3 separate regions of the Homo sapiens genome follow, and regions 1 and 2 are each linked to region 3. The links are contacts of gene promoters, found by promoter capture Hi-C in human tissues and cell types (Jung and others, 2019). All regions are on one chromosome and are shown on one strand. Each heading gives the region's core, a stretch centred on a gene start or on the middle of the fragment in contact. The rest is flanking DNA. Distances are from core to core; before and after follow the strand shown. Region 1 holds the start of KAT6B (lysine acetyltransferase 6B). Region 2 holds the start of MICU1 (mitochondrial calcium uptake 1). Region 3 holds the start of SEC24C (SEC24 homolog C, COPII component).

Region 1 (2,700 bases), core at 137-2,636, 1.1 Mb before region 3:
TCAAGTTTAACATAATGAATCCAGCGTATCACGGGTCGCCATAGCTCACGTCTGTAATCCCATCAGTCAGGCAGAGGTGGGCAGATCACTTGAGGCCAGGAGTTCGAGACCAGCCTGGGCAACATAGTGAGACCCTTTTCTCATTTTTATAAAAAATAATAAATACAGCCTATCAAACAACTTGTCTCCCAAACTAACACCTTTCTCTGCCCCATCCTCACCCCTGGCACAGTCCACCAAATCACATTCACCGAAAATTACTGTACAGCTCCACCCACTTTCTTCACACCTGCCGCCTTGTCCCACCCCTACCAATCCCTTGTCCCCAGGAGATTTTCTGCCACAGATTTTGCAAGTTCTAAGCAGCCTCTCTCCCCTTCCTTCATATTTAAGTTTGCTCTGCTGTCTTAGCATCATCTTTCAGAAACTCTCCCAAGCACAACCATCCCATCCTTCCACGTTTTTAAAAAATACTTCATACCCCAAAGCTAGCAAACCTCCTTCTTATTCCAACATGCGATCCACCCAGATACCTCTTTCCCATCACTGCAATCGTACCTGCTCCTCACATGCGCCTCAATGCCTCCCCAAACCCCTCAACGCCTCCCCAAACCCAACACTCTGCACCGCTTCAACTCTACTCCACATCCACCACACCCAAACCCACCTACTCTGCGCCCAGACAACTGCAATCTCGCCTTCGGTATCATCTCACCTGCCCTCACACACCCCTCGGTCCGCCTTCCACTTCTCTCAAATTGCATCCCTCCCTAACTCTCCCTCTGCACCTGCTTCTACACCTTCAGCTTCTCCTCCCACCCAACCCTCACTAGTCTTCCTCACACCCTCGCCGGCCCCCCACCGCTCCTACCAGTTCACTCCCACTCAGAAATTCCCTCTCAGCCCCCGCCTTCCGACTCCCCGAACCCCGCCCCCACCCGATCCCGCCCCGCCCCCCTCCGCCCTCGAGCCCCGCCCCCTTGCCCTAGAGCCCTGCCGAGGGGCGGGGCCTGTCCCTCCTCCCCTTTCCCCCGCCCCCTACCGTCACGCTCAGGGGCAGCCTGACCCCGAGCGGCCCCGCGGTGACCCTCGCGCAGAGGCCTGTGGGAGGGGCGTCGCAAGCCCCTGAATCCCCCCCCGTCTGTTCCCCCCTCCCGCCCAGTCTCCTCCCCCTGGGAACGCGCGGGGTGGGTGACAGACCTGGCTGCGCGCCACCGCCACCGCGCCTGCCGGGGGCGCTGCCGCTGCCTGAGAAACTGCGGCTGCCGCCTGGAGGAGGTGCCGTCGCCTCCGCCACCGCTGCCGCCGCCGCCAGGGGTAGGAGCTAAGCCGCCGCCATTTTGTGTCCCCCTGTTGTTGTCGTTGACATGAATCCGACATGACACTGATTACAGCCCAATGGAGTCTCATTAAACCCGAGTCGCGGTCCCGCCCCGCCGCTGCTCCATTGGAGGAGACCAAAGACACTTAAGGCCACCCGTTGGCCTACGGGTCTGTCTGTCACCCACTCACTAACCACTCTGCAGCCCATTGGGGCAGGTTCCTGCCGGTCATCTCGCTTCCACATAAACACACCCCTCGACCCATCATCCCCCCCTCCGGCACCACCCCGGGGGAGGGTCCACTGCCAATACCAATCAACAGACCGCTGGGTCCGCCTCTTCCGGGCACCTATTGGTCCAGCCCTTTTTCTCTCTCCTAGATACCGCGCCACCTCTACTTCCACCTACCCGCCCCCTCCACCTCTAGGAAAGGATTGGGTCTACTCGCAGCAGAGGAGCGTAGCCTTATTGGCTGCAGACGACGCCAATCAGGAGGCCTTTTCCCTCTCCCCTCCCCCACTCAACCCCAAACCCCCTAGCCCGCAGCTAAAGTTTGTGTGAGAGCTGATCGCTGGCGGCGGCCGCAGGATTTAGGGGTGGGCGCGGGCGGGCGCGCGCGGGCGGGCACGCGAAGTTAAAATTCGAGGTTCTCAGTCGCCAGCTCCTTCGGTGGAGTGTGCGGACGGGCGCGCCGCCCGGAGCGTTCCATCCCGCCCCCTCCTCCACCCTCTCTCCCGTCCCGTCCCGTCCCGGGCGACTACTCGCCCGCCCCCTGGCTCGCATCCTTCCCCCCCCAACACACCCCTACCCTGCCAGCCCCAGGCCGGGTGCAGGCAGAACGATGTCGCTGCAGCCTCCTCGCCATCCCATGCCTCGGGGGAGCAAGCCCCTACCCACCGGGCGTGCACCCCCCGGCTCCACACTCGCCCGTGTCTGCAAGCACGTGCACCGCTCGCCGCTGCCTCCGGCCACCCGGGTCCCCGGCTAACCTCGCCTGCAGCCCGGCCAATCGCTCGCTGCCCTTTGTTGCTGCAGCCTGGGTCTCCCCGCTGCCTTCCTCAGCCTCCGCCTCGTCCTTTGCCAGCCGCCCGGGTCCGCAGCGCCGCGCTCCCCCCGCCCGGGACCCACCGCCGCCGCCTCCTTCTCCTCCTCCGCCTCCTCCTCCTCGGCTCCGGGCTGCAGCGCACAGAGCCCGAGGCAGCGCCGCCCAGCCCCGCTCCCCCCGCGCCGCCCGCCAGCCCGCCCGGCCTGGCCGGGGGCGCAGCCCGGACCCCGCCCGCCCCAGTCTCCGCCCCGGGGGTACCTGCCTCCGCCCCGGGGGGCTCCTCTCGCCGCCCTCGGGGGAGGGCGGAGACGCTGGTGTCCGCGGGAGGATGGG
Region 2 (2,700 bases), core at 179-2,678, 1.1 Mb after region 3:
ATGGTTTTGTTGGCTTTGTTTCCATGGTTGTTGCCTTTTCCACAGCTCTGCTACGTAAATTCTTGGGAAAAAAAAATTATTTGAAAGTTCTCTGGGACCAGCGAGGTGGCTCGCACTTGTTAATCCCAGCACTTTGGGAAGCCGAGACGGGAGGATCGCCCGAGGTCAGGAGTTTGAGACTAGCCTGCCCAACATGGCGAAACCCCGTCTGTACTAAAAATACAAAAATTAGCCGGGCGTGGTGGGGCGTGCCTGTAATCTCAGCTACTCGGGAGGCTGAGGCAGAAGAATCACTTGAACCTGGGAGGAGGATGTTGCAGTGAGCATCACTGCACTCCAACCTGGGCGACAGTGCGAGACTCCGTCTCAAAACAAACGAACAAACAACCAACCAACACCCCGCTGCCCCCCCCCCAAAAAAATTCTCTGGTATTATAGTCATATTTCCATCCTATTTCCACAGCAGGGGTGAGGATCCTTTGCCATCCCATTTTTCTGATAAAAACACCTTCTTCAGCCGGGCGCAGTGGCTCACGCCTGTAATCCTCGCACTTTGGGAGGCCGAGGTGGGCGGATCACCTGAGGTCGGGCGTTCCAGACCAGCCTGACCAACATGGAAAAACCCCGTCTCTACCAAAAATACAAATTAGTAGGGCGTGGTGGCGCATGCCTGTAATCCCAGCTACTTGGGAGGCTGAGGCAGGAGAATCGCTTGAACCCAGGAGGCAGAGATTGCAGAGAGCCGAGATCGCTCCACTGCACTCCAGCCTGGGCATCAAGAGTGAAACTCTATCTCAAAACAAACAAACAAACAAACAAACAAAAAACACATTCTTCAAGGGAAAACATGTTTTTAAGTGGCTTCTAGAGATTATAAACTCTGCAATAATATTAGTCTGCAAATAAAACACCTGACAAAATCATCCACCAGAGGAAGTGGTGAGGGTTTCTAAATCCAAAAAAGTCTCAAGGTTATGAAACAGGAACATTTAATCTCTGAGAAAACCTAAACGGAGTTGGAAAGAAACAATTTCCAACTCACTGTGGTCCAGTTTTCTTTTCACGAACTCCTTTTTGCTTAGCCAACATAGCCAACACGAAAACGGGTACCGAGGAGGTGTTACAAGCCACAGTAAATTTCTCAACAGATTCCTATGACCCTTGTGGAGGGGAAAAAAACCAGAAGAAATGCCCGAGAGCTTCTGGGAGCTCTCCAGCTTTCCCGCCTAAACGCTGAGGGGAGTAAGGGGGAGTGACGGGGCTAGGGCGGGGCCCGAGGCTGGGGCGTGGCGCGTTGATTTCCCCGCCCCTCCCCGTTCCTTTTCCTCTGTGCCCCTCCCACACGCCTGTCTCCACGATCCCGACAGGCCCAGCGGCTAGGAGAGTCACGTGAGAGTGGGCGGAGGGGGTGGAGGTTTGTCTCCGCTGTTTCATCTCTATGGCTGTCAGAGGTGGGCGGCTTTGACCGAGAGGCTGCTGGAGCTCGTGTTTGGACGCGTGAGTCTTGGACTCTGGAGGGTATAAGGAGACAGCAATTTAGGGAAGGCGAAGGGGAAGGGGGTTGGCGAGACAGCCTTAGGGAACTGGGCTTCGTGGCTGGCCGTTTGTCCGCCCCGGGCATCCGGCTACTTCTCGGGTCTGGCGGGATACCTGTCTCTCCCTGATGCGCTCAGCTTTTGGAGAGGAGTCCGTAGTCTTGCTTGCCTCCCGTCCTCCACTTTCCTTCACCCCAACCCGTCCCTTCTCCCGTCCCGGGAGAACTTCTCCCAGTGCCGGGTTCGCAACTTGGCGCCGACGCCCCCCTCCTCACAGGCGACTGGGACACTCTGGTAGCCTTGACTGGCTCTCCTGGAATTTGTGGATGTGGTTAGAAGTGGGTGCGGGAGTTCACAGATGGATTTCTAATACGGAGAAATATTAACCACTGAATCGAAATAAGTGGAAAATCAGTGAGGACTCAAAGGAGAAATACAAAGTGCAGGCTACTCGGACTGTTCAGTTTTTATCTTTTCCAGCGCCTTCCCGTTTTCATTACGTTCTCCCTGTTTTGTTTTCACCGTCGCATTCTGGCCGGCCATAGGCTGTTTTGAGAAAGAGCTAGATGTTATTGACTCTATGTGAATGTTGGGAGAACAGTTTAAAACAAACTGTTCTTCAAGTTGCCTTCTCTGTAATCTTATGGTTGATGGTTTCTTTACCTTCCAATTTTCCATGTCTTAAAAAATACGGTGGCCATTAGTAAATATAAGTAGAATAAATATCTTATAGCTAAGGGACTAGAGTAAAATATTTTATTTTTCCTGTGGTACCTTAGAAACGCCCATTTTCTTCCTATTTATCAATAAATGTTTCTATCTCACTTGTTTGGGTGGCTTCTTTGATATGCCTTTGTTTATATTAGAACATCCCTTTGGGGCACGTAGGGAAGTGATCGAGCAGTATAAGAAAGGAGTTTGCATTTCATGAGGTGAAACAAGTTCGGTGTGGATAGCTGTAGGAGAGTTTAGGTTTCATTGGACCATATGACAAATAATAAACGTCAGTATCTTGAGACAAAGGTGTTGGCCAGAATGACCCACCTACTGTGTTTCTGGTGTGGACCAGGTAATGAGCTTTTTGAATATTGCCTTATCCTAAAAACTTTAGAACCCATTGCCACTTGTCTGTAGGAAGGTGGCTTTTGCCTCCAGCTACTCTTTG
Region 3 (2,700 bases), core at 156-2,655:
GGAGTTCATGACCAGCCTGGCCAACACGGTGAAACCCAGTCTCTACTAAAAATACAAAAACTAGCCGGGCATGGTGGCACACGCCTGTAATCCCAGCTACTTGGGAGGCTGAGGCAGGAGAAATCGCTTGAACCCGGGAGGCGGAGATTGCAATAAGCCGAGATCGTGCCACTGCACTCCAGCCTGAGCAATAGAGCAAGACGCCCTTTCAAAAAAATAAAAAATAAAGGACACCTGAAAACTCTAGCAAGGTAACAGATTAAAACCAAGTGCAGAACAGGCACCAAAACTTCTTCACATAATCTGAGGAAACAGTTCAAGAATCAGGGGCAAAGTTAGAGTTAGATTTCATGGAAAAAAATCATTCACCTCATCCCTCAAGCAGAAGACTATGAATATTCTAAATTCCAATGCACTTCTCCAACTCTCCTGTTTCTGCTCCCCTTACGATTGTTATGAATCTCAGCCACCATCAAAATTATTACAATCTTGCTCATCAACACAGGGATGAATTAGAGGGCCTTTTCTAAACAGGGTCCTTCCAAGAAAACTATCTCATCACATCTACTTTCAACAGCTGTATCATTCCAATTATCCTGTAGACAGAAGGGGCCCAGAAAGCAGGAGCACTCAGAGTTGCTGCAAAGGGAACAATGGACCTCTCCCCCTTTGCTAGAAGGGCCACCTTGACTATAGAAAAGGAGCTGATCCTGGTCTAAAACTCTTTAAACTCAAAGTTATCTCAATAGCTGTTCTTCCAAACCCTAAACCTTACAGAGGTAGGTCACTGACACTAAGTTTAAAATATGTCCTCTCCCTTTATGTTTCCAAAGCCGGGGGGAGGGGTAAAGAAAGGAGCTTCTTCTCCAGAAAATAATCCCCTCAAACACATTCAAGAGCTTGGAGTCAGACTGAAGTCTCGACTCCATTCTGGGTGGATAGTCGAGGGTGACAACCCAAGGGGGCGGGGCAAGCTTCCTAGAACTCTGAAAGTAGTCAAGCCATGGAGCCTCGGAGAGCCGAGGATCAAAACCGAGAAGCCAAGTCGGCTTCTAGGGCCACGTTAAGAGAGGGGGCTGCTCTGTTAAGCACAGAGACCAAACGTCTTGCACCTTTTAACAGGCTCGGGGCAGGAAGCAGGAGCCGGAATCTGGGCCGGGAGACGAAGGGATGGTCTAGGACCTGCTCCTGGATGGTGGATGCGTGAGGTGAGGGTCTCTACCCAGGCCCCGCCCCCAGGCTCCTCCCTTCTTTCTGAAACCGGACCCCAATCTGGCCAGTAATACCCTGACCTCTCCTTTGCTTTCCTACCCGCCAACCTCCCGATGCCACTCCTCACCCGGCTCCAGATCCAGGTTAGACTTCGTTCCTAACGTCAAGGCTCCCAGGCTCCACTTCCGGTTCCGAGGGGGCCGTCCCGTCACCCCCGGAAGTTCCTCCTCCACGCTTTAGGGCCGGGCCACTTCTTCTGCCACGTCTGCATTTCGGGGACCCGGATGCCGCGCATGCGCCTCTTTCATCTTCCCATCATGGCCGCCGCCTGTGCGCCTCTGCTGAGTCGTATGTATTTCCCTCCTGACATTTTTTTTCAGATGTTCCAGTCACTTTATGGCCTCACCAACAGAAATGAGATTAAAAAGAATTTGTCAAACTATCTTTAATAATGCCCCTTCACTCTGCCTGTGACGTATTAGTGACCTCTGAGCTAGAGTCTTGTAGTCACTTCCTGGTGACCCCTGACCCCGTTGATTTCCGTCCGCTAGGTTGCTCTCACCCATGGCGTTTGCTGGTTATGAGATTTGCGGAACGTGTGGTGGTGGTAAAGGGCACCAACTGTTGTCAACCTGCATGTGGGGGTCTGAGGTCTGGCTCTACAGCTTGTAAAATGGAAATAATAATGCCCAGAGGATGAAATTAGGCCACATAGGCCGCTTGGCATCATAGTAAGCACTCAGTAAAGGTCAATTGTTATTAACCATTTTTATACAGCGCCTTTGTTTAGGTGCAGAGCTTTATCAGAGCCAAAAGATCTCTGCGCTCTGTTGGAAAAGATAGTTCCTGCAGTAATTATTAGTACCCCATTTAATGGCTAAGTAATTATAGCTAACAGTGCTAGGATTTCTTTTTCATATATGACTTCATTTGAACTTTTCAGTACTATTTGTTGATTTCATAATTTTTCGAGCACTGCTGTTGAAACTGCCTTTGCAAAATTACAACTGAGGAAATTATGATAGTGGAAGAAATCAGACTTAACCGACTCCATCTTGCTTCTAACCTTTAAGCTGTCCTTATTCATTCCTGGGTGTAGGTGGAACTAACTTTGGGGAGGAATTCAGTTTATGGTTTGAAACAAAATTGATAATAGCCCCTTCCCGAAAAGACCCCCTTCTTGCCTGGGGACCAGTCTGTCTTTACAGGACTAACAAATTAGCTACAAGATTACAAATTACAGTTTAGGGGACATGCAGCCTCTCGCTCCAAGAGTCTGAACCTCCCCAAATTGCTTTTAGGAATAACATAACTATTGTAAAACCTAAGATTAGTGCTTGAGATGTTTTGCAGACCCTGCACTCATTGGATCAGCTGACTACCTAGACCAGTAACCTGGCTCAATCAGTTCTGCCATTCCACCCAGGAACAGAAAACAGCAAGAAAACCTCACTTTGACTCCCTGTGATTCCGTCTTCAACCTGACCA

The links. The method cuts DNA at HindIII sites, captures the fragments that hold promoters and counts their contacts. A contact is called where the count stands out against the background at its distance.
Region 1: the fragment with the promoter of KAT6B here is called in contact with the fragment with the promoter of SEC24C in region 3 in 1 of the 25 tissues and cell types used here (spleen).
Region 2: a contact is called between the fragment with the promoter of MICU1 here and the fragment with the promoter of SEC24C in region 3, in 1 of the 25 tissues and cell types used here (aorta).

Annotation. Positions count from the first base shown.
Region 1 is chr10:74,825,286-74,827,985 of GRCh38, reverse strand. KAT6B (lysine acetyltransferase 6B) reads right to left here and starts at 1,386. Exons shown (of 18, transcript NM_012330.4): 1 at 1,201-1,386. RefSeq lists silencers at 921-1,320, 2,011-2,210, 2,321-2,420, 2,531-2,700 and enhancers at 1,536-2,307, 2,308-2,700. The HindIII fragment of the contact is 20,011 bases long and covers 1-2,700 here.
Region 2 is chr10:72,624,807-72,627,506 of GRCh38, reverse strand. MICU1 (mitochondrial calcium uptake 1) reads left to right here and starts at 1,428. Exons shown (of 12, transcript NM_001195518.2): 1 at 1,428-1,497. RefSeq lists enhancers at 1,424-1,573, 1,124-1,661. The HindIII fragment of the contact is 10,311 bases long and covers 1-2,700 here.
Region 3 is chr10:73,743,077-73,745,776 of GRCh38, reverse strand. It overlaps SEC24C (SEC24 homolog C, COPII component), which reads right to left and starts at 1,405. Exons shown (of 23, transcript NM_198597.3): 1 at 1,340-1,405. It overlaps LOC124902453 (a long non-coding RNA gene), which reads left to right and starts at 1,512. Exons shown (of 2, transcript XR_007062195.1): 1 at 1,512-1,560; 2 at 2,566-2,700. RefSeq lists enhancers at 890-1,456, 1,357-1,786, 1,457-2,024, 864-2,063. The HindIII fragment of the contact is 12,749 bases long and covers 1-2,700 here.